3 separate regions of the Homo sapiens genome follow, and regions 2 and 3 are each linked to region 1. The links are contacts of gene promoters, found by promoter capture Hi-C in blood cells and fetal thymus (Javierre and others, 2016). All regions are on one chromosome and are shown on one strand. The core of a region is centred on a gene start or on the middle of the fragment in contact, and the rest is flanking DNA. Distances in the headings are between cores, read along the strand shown. Region 1 holds the start of KIF9 (kinesin family member 9). Region 2 overlaps SETD2 (SET domain containing 2, histone lysine methyltransferase). Region 3 overlaps SETD2 (SET domain containing 2, histone lysine methyltransferase).

Evidence for each region. The method cuts DNA at HindIII sites, captures the fragments that hold promoters and counts their contacts. A CHiCAGO score of 5 or more calls a contact.
Region 2: a fragment that was not itself captured here is called in contact with the fragment with the promoter of KIF9 in region 1 in 2 of 17 cell types (endothelial precursors and naive B cells); the score reaches 5.5 in endothelial precursors.
Region 3: a contact is called between a fragment that was not itself captured here and the fragment with the promoter of KIF9 in region 1, in 2 of 17 cell types (naive B cells and total B cells). The highest score is 5.9, in naive B cells.

The regions. Positions count from the first base shown.
Region 1 is chr3:47,280,032-47,284,617 of GRCh38, forward strand. It overlaps KIF9 (kinesin family member 9), which reads right to left and starts at 2,768. Exons shown (of 21, transcript NM_182902.4): 1 at 2,464-2,768. It overlaps KLHL18 (kelch like family member 18), which reads left to right and starts at 2,913. Exons shown (of 10, transcript NM_025010.5): 1 at 2,913-3,063. The coding sequence starts at 2,935. RefSeq lists enhancers at 2,092-3,291, 2,507-2,896. The HindIII fragment of the contact is 6,231 bases long and covers 200-4,586 here.
Region 2 is chr3:47,066,868-47,071,453 of GRCh38, forward strand. It overlaps SETD2 (SET domain containing 2, histone lysine methyltransferase), which reads right to left. Exons shown (of 21, transcript NM_014159.7): 13 at 203-251. Among named protein-coding and RNA genes, the nearest start is that of NBEAL2, 89 kb to the left of the region's middle. RefSeq lists an enhancer at 550-1,155. The HindIII fragment of the contact is 747 bases long and covers 2,317-3,063 here.
Region 3 is chr3:47,109,374-47,113,959 of GRCh38, forward strand. It overlaps SETD2 (SET domain containing 2, histone lysine methyltransferase), which reads right to left. Exons shown (of 21, transcript NM_014159.7): 5 at 4,503-4,586. Among named protein-coding and RNA genes, the nearest start is that of SETD2, 52 kb to the right of the region's middle. RefSeq lists an enhancer at 4,337-4,586. The HindIII fragment of the contact is 5,114 bases long and covers 1-4,586 here.

The DNA of each region.
Region 1 (4,586 bases), core at 1,518-4,017:
GCAGCCTGTCTCCCAGGCTCAAGCAATCCTCCCACCTCAACCTCAACCTCCAGAGTAGTGGTAGGACAGGTGTGTGTCACCACACCCGGCTAACGTTTTGCAATTTTGTAGAGATGGGGTTTCAACATGTTGCCCAGGCTGGTCTCAAACTCCTGGGTTCAAGCAATCCACCCACCTCAGCCTCACACTCAATTTCTAAAGCTTGGGGAACCGGGGAACCACTCTTCACATCCAAGGGCCCATTCTCCTGCCCAGGGAAATTCAGATGCCATCCAGGGTATGCTCCGAAAGGGACCATGAAGAAGCAGGGGAGCTCTGGGAGCAGGTGCCCAGGCCTCTCTCCCTGAAGCCCCTGCACAAGAGTAGCACAGGCCAGTTCAGAGCATCAACCTCAGCTGGGCATGGTGGCTCACGCCTGTAATCCCAGCCTTTGGGAGGCCAATGTGGGAGGATCGCTTGAGGCCAGGAATTAGGAACCAGCTTGGGTAACACAGCAAGACCTTGTCTCTACAAAAAATTTTAAAAATTTGCCAAGTGTGGTGGTGCACGCGTGTGGTCCCAATTTCCCAGGAGGCTGAGGCAGGAGGATCACTTGAGCAGTGATGGCACACCACTGCTCTCCAGCCTGGACAACAGCGTGAGACTGTCTCAACAAAACAAAACAAATAAGCAAAAGCATCACTCTCCCTCCAGAGCCTGGCCCTTCTCTGCCCTGCTATTTGCCAACATGCACATGCACACGCAGTCACCCCATGTATGCTTCCCAAGGCCCTCCCATGCTGACACCATGGCTCCAAGCAGGCCAGGAGCCATATCCACCTGCAATAAAGTCTTCCTTTGCACACCCGTCTTGTGAGCCTGCTACTCAGCAGCCCTTTAACACCCAAACATTTAGGGACCCCATGCCATCTTGCACTTACTGAAATACTGCTTGTTACCATTCTTACGTCGCTTCATTTGAGTGGGTTTCAGTTCCCAAAATTAAATTACAAGCTGCTTGAAGGCAAGGATTGTGCTTTTTATCTCTTTTGAATCCCCTCACAATGTCCAGGGCAGAGCCCAGCACAGAGTAGGTATTCAGGAAATGGCGGTGGTTGGTGATGGTAATGGCTGGAAGTCAGAGGGCAGCTGAATCTTCATATGTGGGTCTATCTTCAGTCACTACTGAGAGAGTCCCAAGGGGCATATGATGTCACTCCCCTTCCATGACAACTCCAACCAAAGCCCACAGCCCTTCCAGGAGGACACTTGGTTTCCAGGTGCAAAAATCCACATCCAGCACCTCACCACACGCTTTTTTTGTTTTTGTTTTTGTTTTTTGTTTATTTGTTTTTGTGACAGGGTCTCACTCTGTCACCTAGGCTGGAGTGCAGTGAAACAATCTCGGTTCACCGTAGCCTCCACATCCTGGGTTCAAGCGATCCTCCCACCTCAGCCCCGCAAGTAGCTAGGACTACAGGCGTGCACCACCACGCCCGGGTAATTTTTGTATTTTTCGTAGAGACAGGGTTTCGCCATGTTGCCCAGGCTGGTCTTGAACTCCTGAGCTCAAGCAATCCGCTCACCTCAGCCTCCCAAAGTGCTAGGATTACAGGCGTGAGCCACGGCGCCCGGCCCCCTCCCTTTCTCCCTCAGGACCTTGTGGGGAATGTCTCTCCTTGGGGAACCACCCTTTGATATTTCTGGTATAACAAAGCAAGTCTCTGAATGGCCACCAGGAGACTTCTGTGTTAAGGCGCTCGAGGTTTCCTCATTTGTCTTTAGTGGGAATGAACAGAATTGGCAACAAGCAGCCATGAAGACTAGACAAGAGGAAAGGGAGCGTTTGGTGGGGTGGAAGGCACCAGGTGGGTCCCTATCTTCCAGTGCTCCCGTCCAGATGAGGGGCTGTCATGGGGAACCCTCATAGCTACCCGTAGCGGCAGCACCAACACCCGAATCCAAAACACTGGGTCCAACTGCACCTGGCCTTGGCTGAACAAGACTAGGATGCAGGCAAAACTAGACTTTCTCCTTTTTCTCACCCAATGTGCCGGACCCCCGCGTGGAGCCTGGGCGGCAGTGGGCTTTGGACCCATTCCGGTCCCTCTCTGGAGAGGTTTCCTCACCTGTAACACGAAGGGCTCCGACTGGTGATCCCAAAGCCCCCTCTAGTTCGAAAACTGACTAGTACGGAAGAGTCCAGACGACCTCTGGCTCCCTGCCTCACGGCCTCTATGTCCTGGACGCGACGTGGGACCCCTTTGTGGGACCAATGAACATTAGCTCCGAAGACCGTAAGCCGCGGTCAGGTTGAAAGGACTCCCGCGACGTCGAGCCCTCCTTCGCCTGGGTTTCAGAGATGAGCGACCCAGCTGGGAACCCCCAGATAAAGCGGTTTTTGGACCCCAGCCACTTTCAGCAGTCCGGGCGCACACCCTTTTCCCGTCTCCCCACTCCCACCGGCGAGCAGCCCCTGCTCACCGTTCACCAGGCAGCGACGCTCCCGGGACGCGACTGCCGCAACCGAAACCACCTGCACTCCCCACGCGGGGCTGCCTGGCTGTGTACATAGTCGCCATGGCAACGGGTCGCTTCCGGGGATTCCGGAAGTGTCGGGGTGGCGGAAATGAAGTCCGAGGTCCTACGTCGAGGATACGGGTGAGGTCATGGCCGAATCGGGAAGACGAGAGATGGGGCCGATTGATCTAGAAAGACTTCGGCGGATGCACATGCGAAGTCAAGGTCGAGATAGCGAGGGAACGAAGGCCGCACATGAACCAGGAAGCGGAGTGGCGGGGCTTCCGGCGCCGAGGAGATTCAACTACGGCGGCCGCGGAGGCCCGTCCGATTGCTGCTCCGCGCTCCGAGCGGCTGTCGGCGTGCGCTATCGCCCCGCCCTGGTTAGTGTCTAGCCGGCCGGCGAGGCCTGCGCAGTTGCAGCGGCCGGGGAAGATGGTGGAGGACGGCGCGGAGGAGCTGGAGGATCTGGTGCACTTCTCCGTGTCTGAGTTGCCTAGTCGCGGCTACGGCGTCATGGAGGAGATCCGGCGGCAGGGCAAGCTGTGCGACGTGACCCTCAAGGTACCGCGGACTGGGCGGCAGCGGGCTGAGGGAAAAGGGGTCGAGCGGGGAGTAAAAAGGGGCGGGGGACAGAGAAAGAGAGGTCTAGCAGGGAGAGGGGTGGGGAGAAGAGGTGTGAGGGGGGCCGAGTAGTGGGGAGAGAGGTGCCGAGCAAAAGGGGATCGGGGCCGAGTGGGGAGAGGAAGAGGACAACCTTTCAGCCCTTGAAAGGAAAGGTTGAGAGGTGCGCCGCTTAGGCCCTTGGAGTGGGAGACACGGGTGACAGCCTCCTTTTTCTGTCATGCAGACAAGAGAAAATGGACTTACCTTCTATGGAGGCAGGGGCGGTGGCCGGCTCCACATGCTGATGGGCACCACTGAAGAACCTTCTCTTGTCACTACAGATATTTCTTTGTGCCTGTCGAACTTGGCTGTGCTGTTCTAGAAGAGAAGGCTTCTCCTTAGGAATCATTGCCCTTAATTGTTGAATTACTACTTTGTCTCTTAAGAGCTTTTAAAATCTTCTCTGGAAAATTTTTGAGGTGGGAAGCCACCCTGCCCCATACTGGAAGGCACCACTCACCACCACAAAGGTCCCCGGGGCTGGGCCTGCTGGCCGCGTGGGGAGAGGGATGCTGACTGATATTAAGAGGGAAAGATATCTTAACCACCTGTTCCCCACCAGCATTCTGGTCGCTAGAGCCAGCCTCCCTCCTGTGCCTGGGTCTTTTCATGAGGAAGAGGCATGCTGTGCTGCTGCCTGGCCAAGCCACCGAACCATGTGGAGACGTCCGGTTGGGGAGATGATCAGTGGGGCTCCCTGTTGGGCTTTAGCTGGAAAGCTCTCAGCATCTGTGCGTGATCCCTGTTTAAAAAACAAACAGGGCAGGCATGGTGGCTCACACCTGTAATCCCAGCACTTTGAGAGGCGAGAGGATCACTTGAGTGGGGGAATTGGAGACCAGCCTGGGCTATGTAGGGAGACCCTGTCTCTACAAATAATAAAAAATTGTCTGGGCATGGTAGCCTGTGCCCGTAGTCCCAGCTACTCAGGAGGGTGAGGTGGGAGGATCGCTTGAGCCTAGGAGGTCAAGCCTGCAGTGAGTTGTAATCACACCACTGCACTCCAGCCTGGGCAACACAGCAAGATCCTATTTCTCCTATTTCTCTCTGTCTCTCTCACACACACACACACACACAAATAAATAAATAAAAGAAAAAATAAAACTATGCAGAGATTCTTTTGCTCTTCTTTTCTTTTTTCTTTTTTTTTTTTTTTTTGAGACGGAGTCTCGTTCTGTTGCCCAGGCTGGAGTGCAGTGGCGCTATCTTGGCTCACTGAAACTCTCTCTCCTGGGTTCAAGCGATTCTCCTGCCTCAGCCTCCCCAGCAGCTGGGACTACAGGCGCGCACCACTACCCCTGGCTAATTTTTTCTATTTTTAGTAGAGACAGGGTTTCACCATGTTGCTCAGGCTGGTCTCGAACTCCTGAGCTTCAGCAGTCTGCCTGTCTCGGCCTCCCAAAGTGCTAGAATTACACGCG
Region 2 (4,586 bases), core at 1,440-3,939, 210 kb before region 1:
AGTGTAAGAGACATTTCCTTTGGCAAAATGCATTAAGAATAAAAGCACAAGTTTCCAAACTTTTACACCAAATATTTCATTTACCTAGTTATATATTCTCTAGTTTCAAAAACAAAAACGCTTAAGTTCTTATCAGTTACCTCTGCACATAACAAAAGAATATTTGTAAAGCCATCAACACAGAGTATCTCTGAATACCTACTTGTGTTTTCCTTTTCAGTTTGACTTTTCTTTGGAATTCGATATACCTCCTGCAAAAAATAAACCAGAGGGAGGGTTATTAGTGAGGGTGGAAATGGTGATTGCTTTGAAACTGACTGTTTTCACATGACAATAAAGAAATGGAAAGTAACAAGCTGGTACTTATTCTCTAAAATTTGACTTATATCTGGGCTTTAAATAAGAATATATCCTGGCCCCTTAAAAACAAGAAAAAATATATAGCAGAAATACATATATTTACATCTATCAAGCTTGTACGATCTCACTAGCAAAGCAGCATACTAAATGACTGGGCAAGGATACGCTTCCTGAGCATCTTTTTTTTTTTTTTTTTTTTTTTTTTGAGACAAGGTCTTGCTCTGTCACCCAGGCTGAAGGGCAGTGGCATGATCTCGGCTCACTGCAACCTCTGCCTCCCAGGCACAAGCAATCCTTCTGCCCCAGCCTCCCAAGTAGCTGGGACCACAGGTGGATGCCACCATGCCCCGCTAATTTTTTCTATTTTTGTAGAGATGGGGTTTTATCACATTGCCCAGGCTGGTCTCGAACTCCTGGGCTCAAGCAATCTACTCAGCCTCCCAAAGTGCTGGGATTACAGGCGTGAGCCACCATGCCTGGCCAAGTATTCATAATTCTAATGTGCACTTGCCATCTCTACTTAGAGAAAGAAAAGGTTAATAACTACCCAGTTATATAAAAACACTTCAGAAAAATTGTATGTGTAAAGACAATTCCTACTATTCAGTGTATTTTTCTATAAATGCAAAACCAACATGACTAATGGCCAATGTAATATCTACTTTCACATTGTGTTTGTTATAAAAAATAAAAAATATAAAGGATAAGCATTAGATCACTGCTCCTCTTGATCACTGTACCAAAATTGATCCTGAGAAATGTGAACTGTTTTAAAGGCTTTTAAGTACCTTTTCTTGTGTTATCTAAGGCCTAGAACCTATTTTGTTCTTTAACAGCTCTTCACTATTCCACCGTCCATCGAGTAACTATTGGGCACAATACTTTCTTATCCAGTCATCTTAAGTGGGACAGTAACAAGCCTACACACTCTCAATAGTACATAAGGTGATATCATCCCTTCAGAGGAATCTCATAATATTAACCACACCTGTGGCCTCCTCTCCACAATTGTTGCTTCTCACAATATTTGTGAAAAATAATAAGCCACATGTCACACAACTGAGGAAAGGTCATGATGTAATATTCAGTTGCCATTAAAAAGGATCAATATGGACTGCACAGATCCAGGGAAATCTATATAAATGAAAAATTTTTTTAAACCTCCAATACTATATGCATGCTGACAAATTAATAAAGATGATTATAATTAATTGTGCACTTATACTGTGTGCCAGATATCATGCTGAACATTTCAAATACACTATCTTTTTTTTTTTTTTTTTTTTTGAGACGGAGTCTTGCTCTGTCATCCAGGCTGGGGTAAAGCGGCACAATCTCAGCTTACTGCAACCTCTGCCTCCTGGGTTCAAGCAATTCTCCTGCCTCAGCCTCCTGAGTAGCAGGGATTATAGGCACACACCACCATGCCCAGCTAATTTTTGTATTTTTAGTAAAGACAGGGTTTCACCATGTTAGCCAGGTTGGTCTCGAACTCCTGATCTCATGATCTTCCCACCCTGGCCTCCCAAAGTGCTAGGATTACAGGCGTAAGCCACTGCGCCCGGCCTATCTTTTTGTTTTGTTTTGTTTTTTGAACCGGGGTCTCTGTCGCACAGGCTGGAGTGCAGTGGTGCGATCTCAGCTCATTGCAACCTCCACCTCCCAGGTTCAAGCGATTCTCCTTAGCCTCCCCAGTAACTGGGATTACAGGTGCATGCCACCATGCTTGGCTAATTTTTGTATTTTTAGTAGAGATGGGGTTTCATCATGTTGGCCAGACTGGTCTCGAACTCCTGACCTCATGATCTGCCCACCTTGGCCTCCCAAAGTTCTGGGATTACAGATGTGAGCCACCGCACCCGGCCCTTCAAATACATTATCTTATTTGAGCTTCAAAACGACCCTATGAGGTAAGTACTATTACCTCAATTTTCCAAAAAGGAAACTTACTTAAAAAGCTTAGCAATCTACCCAAGGTTATGATGCTACCAGACAGTCTAACTCAAGAGCACTTTTATCTTCTGTATTAGATGACACAGGACATGCCTAACAACATTATTTTGAGAAGGAGTACCATTCTGAGATTTATGCACAAATGCAGGTGACATCCTCCATCCCCTTAACCTCTCCTTCCTATGTAGAAGAACTTTCATTAGAGCTGTGATTCTCTACCCTGGTTGTACAATTAAACCACCCAAGAAGCGTTCATGGAAATACCACCCCAGACAAAGTGAATCTAAATCTCTGGATGTGGATGCCAGACATGCGTATTTTTTAGAAGCTCCTCAGATGATTCTGATGCACAGAGAAGGCTGAGAACTACTGAACTACTGGCTATTCTTATCCTCACCCACCCCTCCCCACAAGAGAGAATCTGGGAGAAAAAACTAGGTAGGCCTGCCCTCAGCTAAGAGACATCTGGGCTCTCTTTTCTCTTGATCTGCTTTTGCCTTTAGAGAGGGGGTACATTCCCATCTGCTACTATGAGGGACATCTGAAGTTACTGAGTTGTCAATTTCTAGCTGTGGGTAATACTGAATCAGGAATAAAGACAGGAAGGAGCAAGCTGGCACTCTTAGTTCTGTGTGTCTTACTCCTCTGTCTGCCTCTCAGAGGGGTTATTAGACAGGAAAAAGTAAGAACGCCATTTATTACCATCTACCCACACTATAAGGGAAAAAAGGTATTCTGCTAATTTTAAGAAGCTTGGAAATGACATTTGCATTAGGTACTCTGTAAACCTAGGCACTCCAAAAGACAGCAGGTTCATTCACAAAAGGTACTTAGAATTGGTGTATTGAGGGTCCCACTAAGAATAACACAATTTTGACCTAGTTTCTTTTGCATAATATCTTGGCATTATAAGCATTTATTACAAAAATTTAAAGTAATTTATTACATAGGCCTCAAGTTGGGGACCCACTCTGTAGCGGCAGTTAATGTACCACCAGAAACGCTTCTCAAAGATAAATTCTTAGTTACGTTCAAAAGTTTAGATCAACTACTAAGTTGAAAATGTATTTTGATGTTCACAAAATAATGATTACTACTGACTAATGACCAGGAGCTACTATTTACTGTGTGCCTAATCACATGAGAAACAATTTCTATCAATATGTACCTAAGCACTTGGAGCTGCTAACTTGATCCTCTCTCTTTCTAGTCAAGGCTACATACAAAATTTAAGCTGGCAACTCAAATTACCTACTGTCTCCTCCTTATTTTATATATTAAGAGAATGGGGTCCTGAAAATACAACTGAAGTTTTCCAAAGTCCCACAACATTGAAAGCTGAGAAGGAAGCAGCCACGCGAGGATAACTTTGACATTTCTTAAGATCATTCTGTCTTGTGAATAATAGTATTAGTCTCAGTGATACTTGAGTCTGTCTGGAATAATGTCACATCCATAGGCCACAGAGTCTGTTACAGAAAATGTTTAAATTGGCTTCATTCATGTTAACCCTTAATGTAAGATCACCTTACTTTGTTAAATATTCCACTCAAGAGACTGGCATACTATAACAGAAGATTTCAAAATGATAATTATATGATCTGCCAAACAAGGGAGAATAGAATAAGGACATTTTTCAGATCTATAAGGTCTCAAAATGTTATTTACTGGAAGAGAATACTGAAGACAATACTGTGGATGTTCTAAGATTTAATATTGTGTGTGTATATGTGTGTATAGCGATGGGGTCTTGCTCTGTTGCCCAGGCTGGTCTCAAACTCCTGGCCTCAAGTGATCCTCCTGTCTTAGCCTCCCGAAGTGCTGGAAGCCATCATGTCCAGTGCAGTGGTGTGATCATAGCTCACTGCACCCTCAAACTCCCATGCTCAAGGGATGCTTTGATCTTCAGCTTCCCAAGTAGCTGGCCTACAGGTGCGTGCCACTATGCCTGGCAGGTTTGATATTCTGTAAGTTAGGTTCTAGGACTGCTCTTGCCCTCAGACAGACCTAAAAGAATCTGCTTCCACACTCCATCTGATACTTTTTACATATTGTCCTCTTATTTCTTTAGTGTCTAGGTGCAAACCTCAACTAACACACAATTCATACACACTCAAGCTATAATTATTATGGGCCCATACTGTCTTATTCTTTATTGTATCTCTAGCACCAAGAACAGTGTCTGGCACATAATCAACACTCAATTCCTTTCTGAATGGACCAACAAGTGAAATTCTACTTCTAATTTATAGAAATCACCTACACAGTGCTAC
Region 3 (4,586 bases), core at 1,122-3,621, 170 kb before region 1:
GGTGGCTCACGCCTGTAATACCAGAACTTTGGAAAGCCAAGGTGAGAGGATCACTGGAGCTTAGGAGTTCGAGACCAACCTGGGCAACACGGCAAAACCCTGTCTCTACTAAAAATACAAAAAAATTAGCAGAGTATGGTAGTGTACACCTGTAGTCCCAGCTACTGAGGAGGCTAAGGTTGGGGGATCACCTGAGCCCAGGAGGTTGAGGCAGCAGTAAGCTGTGATCGCGCCACTGCATTCAAGCCTGGGCAACACAGTGAGACCCTGTGTCGGAAAACAACAAAAAAATGTGGAGGGGAAAGATGGCTTCTAAAAAAGCCTCATTTCGGCCAGCCACGGTGGCTTACCCCTGTAATTACAGCACTTTGGGAAGCCAAGCCAGGCGGATCACCTGTAGTCAGGAGTTCGAGACCAGCTGGGCCAACATGGTGAAACCCCCTCTCTACTAAAAATAGAAAAATTAGCTGGGCATGGTGGCGCACACCTGTAATCCCAGCTACTCAGGAGGCTGAGGCAGGAGAATCACTTGAACCCGGGAAGCAGAGGTTGCAGTGAGCCGTGATCGTGCCACTGTGCTCCAGCCTGAGTGACAGAGCAAGACTCCATCTCAAAAAAAAAAAAAAAAGCCTCATTTGCCCAAATGTCCATCAACTAACAAAAGGATATACAAAATATCGTATACCCATACAAGAGAGTATTATTCAGCCATAAATAGGAATTAAGTGCTGACACATGCTGCAATACAGATGAAACCTCAAAAACATAATGCTAAGTGAAAGAAGCCAGACACAAAAGGCCACATATTGTATAATTTCATTTATACGAAATACCGAGAATAGATCAACCCACAGAAACAGACAGCAAATTAGTGGCTGCCAGGCCTGGGAGGAGGCAGGTATGAGAAGATTCTGCTTAACAGGCAGAGTTAGTTCCCTTTTCAGATGATGAAAATGTTTTGGACACAGACAAAAGTGGCAGTTGCACAAGATTATGAATGCACTAAATGGTACTGAATTGTAAACTTTAAAATGGTCAATATTATATTATGTGAATTTTACCTCAATTAAAACCCTATCTGGTATCCAATTACATTAAGTCAACCTGGACTGCCTTCTCTTCCTACAACTGGGAGATTTCCTAAAACTACAGGGGTTTTGGTAATAACCTGCTTTTTTGGTGGGGTCTGCCATGGCACTTTAACACTAACTAGTAACTTAGCTCCAAATAATTTCTCATCCTGTGTAGCTCTGACAATCTGTCCTTATTAAATGGTAATACTCTACCAGTAAACAACGCAAGAGTTTTGACTAGTTTATGAAATTCATAAACTATTGGTATTACACATCATCATGTGGCAGTTATAGGAGTAGGAAGGTATGGGAAACATGGAAACATTAAGTCCTAGTATATTTTACCAAAGCAGGGTTCTCTGTGAATAGCTGAAGAAAACGGAAGAGCTTTAGGAAATTTTAACCTGGCTTATAAACTGGAGCCATATATCCTTTCCTCCCTTCCCCAGTCTCCTTTCCCCTTAATATGAGAAGAGCACTGAGCTATCAAAGAGTGTCTGTTGCAAGTAACAGAATTTAGATCAGGTTTGAAGCTATGTGTTTTACTGCAGATACCACAAAAGACCAGCATCCAGACAGCTCATCCACTATTGTCCCTGTAAGAGAGGCTTGTGTCCAAACTGTGGTTCCTTTAAAAAAAAAAAAAAAAAAAAAAAAAAAAAAAATCTCAAGAAGGCCTGGCTGGCTAGGGCAGAATGAAAGAAGGCATCTTTGAAAATGTGCGTCTGGACTAGAACTAGTGATTTTGGAAATTCAATGGGCTGCTTTGAGAGGTATTGAGTTCTGTATCAACAGTGTTCAAAGGAAGTGTAACCAATTATTTGTTTAAAATATTATAAAGAATCCAATGAATGGATATGGGGCATATGACAATTCTGTGGGATATTTGCTTCAAATAAACAATTAAAAACCAGTTATGAGAAGCCTAGGCAACATAGTGAGGACCCCATCTCTACAAAAAATAGAAAAATAAAGTAGCTGGGCATACTGGCTCACACTTATAGTCTCAGCTACTCAGAAGGCTGAGGCAGGAGGATAAATTGAGCCTGGGAGGTCGACACTGCAGTGAGCTATGATTGCGCCAGGATACTCCAGCGAGGGTGACAGGGCAAGACCCTGTCTCAAAAAAATAAAAAACAATAAAAACCAGTTATGAGCCAGGGTGTGTTTTTACAAAACTTAGAGGAGAAGAGAAATCTATGAGGTTCCTACTAGCCCCCTTTTTGTGTAACAAAACATGTTGCTTTCTGATTGGTTCCCAAAAGGATAGATTAATATCAACATCATTTCTTATCTTCAAAGGAAAAAAAAAAAAAGAACAATTTGCTTATCAAAAGATATATGAGGATTCCTGTCATAAAACTAAATTATTGCCAAGGGGAAAACAGTGAGAAAAAAAAATTATTGTCTTTATTACCTGTGTTTTGAATTCCCACAATAAACAGATTAAACCCCACCAAGTCCTGCCCCAACTCCAACTCCCATCCAACTGTGGCCATATGCTCAGAGGGTTCTGAAAGAATAGTTATGTCTAAGTTACTAGAATCCAGCAAATGTTTTATTTCCTTCCATTTTTTCTTTTATATATTTTTTAAATGTTTCAACCATAAACACATGTAATCTGTTTATATTTAACTTCAAAGAGGCACTTGACCTTCATTAAGAATACTTTTTTTTTTTTTTTTTGGAGACAGTCTCGCTCTGTCCCCCAGGCTGGAATGCAGTGCCATGATCTCGGCTCACTGCAACCTCCTCCTCGTGGGTTCAAGCAAATTCTTCTGCCTCAGCCTCCCGAGTAGCTGGGATTACAGCTGTGCGCCATCATGCCTGGCTAATTTTTGTTTTGTTTTTTGAGACAGAGTTTCACTCTTGTCACCCAGGATGGAGTACAATGGCGCAATCTCGGCTCACTGCAACCTTCGCTTCCCCGGTTCAAGAGATTCTCCTGCCTCAGCCCCTCAAGTAACTGGGATTATTGGTGCCTGCCACCACATCCAGCTAATTTTTGTATTTTTAGTAGTGACAGGGTTTCACCACATTGGCCAGGCTGGTCTTGAACTCCTGACCTCAGGTGATCTGCCCACCTCGGCCTCCCAAAGTGCTGGGATTACAGGCGTGAACCACCACGTCCAGCGTAATTTTGGGTTTTTTGTTTGTTTTCGAGATGGAGTCTTGCTCTGTCTCCCAGGCTAGAGGGCAGTGGCATGATCTCGGCTCACTGCAACCTCCACCTCCCAAGTTCAAGCGATTCTCCTACCTCAGCCTCCCAGGTAGCTGGGATTATAGGCGTGCGCCACCACACCCATCTAATTTTTGTATTTTTAGTAGAGACGGGGTTTCGCCATGTTGGCCAGGCTGGTCTCGAACTCCCGACTTCAGGTGATCCACTCACCTTGGCTTCCCAAAGTGCTGGGATTACAAGCATGAGTCACCATGCCCGGCCAAGAATACTTTAAATATGCTATATATAAGAAAATTAAACATTTCCAGGAAATACTGAATATGGTAGAAAATAAAGTGAACCTTTTGCTGTATTACATTAAAAACTTACATCAGTTACATGGAAAGCAACATTTATTCATTCAAGAAATGTTTAATGATTATCTATCAAGTATGTTTTAATTCTTAACCTTGATATGCTCAGGTATTCTCTTCTACTCTTTTTTTTTTTCTTTAAGAGACAAGAGATCACTGCCATCCAGGCTAGAATGCAGTGGCGTGATCACAGCTCACTGTAACCTTGAACTCCCAGGCTCAAGCAGTCCTCCCACTTAGCTTCCCATAGCGCTGAGATTACAAGCATGAGCCACTGCACCTGGCCTTCTCTTCTACTCTTATCCCAACTCAATTTTATGTATACTAATGGATTCTGTCCCAACTTCTTTTTATATAGCTTCATAGAGATTCTGGGGGTCCACAGTAAACACTTGGTAGTTGCTTGGAATTAAAGAAAACATAATTACCAAAAAAGAAAAAAAGATTTTTTAACAACAAACTAGCTACCAAGTGGTCATTCTACATAATAATCATCATTAAACCTCAGTGTAATAAAGAAATTGTTTCCCTACAAAAACATCTAAGTTCAACAACACAAAAATGAAGTGAAGCCCAGGCGCGACGGCTCACACCTGTAATCCCAGCACTTTGGGATGCCAAGGTGGGCGGAAAACTTGCGGTCAGAGTTCGAAACCAGCCTGGCCAACATGGTGAAACAACGTCTCTACCAAAAAAATACAAAAAAAATTAGCTGGGCATGGTGGCATGAGCCTGTAGTTCCAGCTACTTGAGAGGCTAAGGCAGGAGAATTGCTTGAATCCGGGAGGTAGAGGTTCCAGTGAGCCAAGATCGTGCCACTGCACTCCAGTCTGGGTGAAAGAGTGAGACCTTGTCTCAAAAAAGGAAGTGAAAGGTAATTAAAAAAGAACTTACGAAGGAAGGTCTTTGGCAGCTCTCAAGCCCCAGCCTTTCTTTTCTGTGAGTATGACTTCCACATCTGCATGCTGTTTTCTCTGA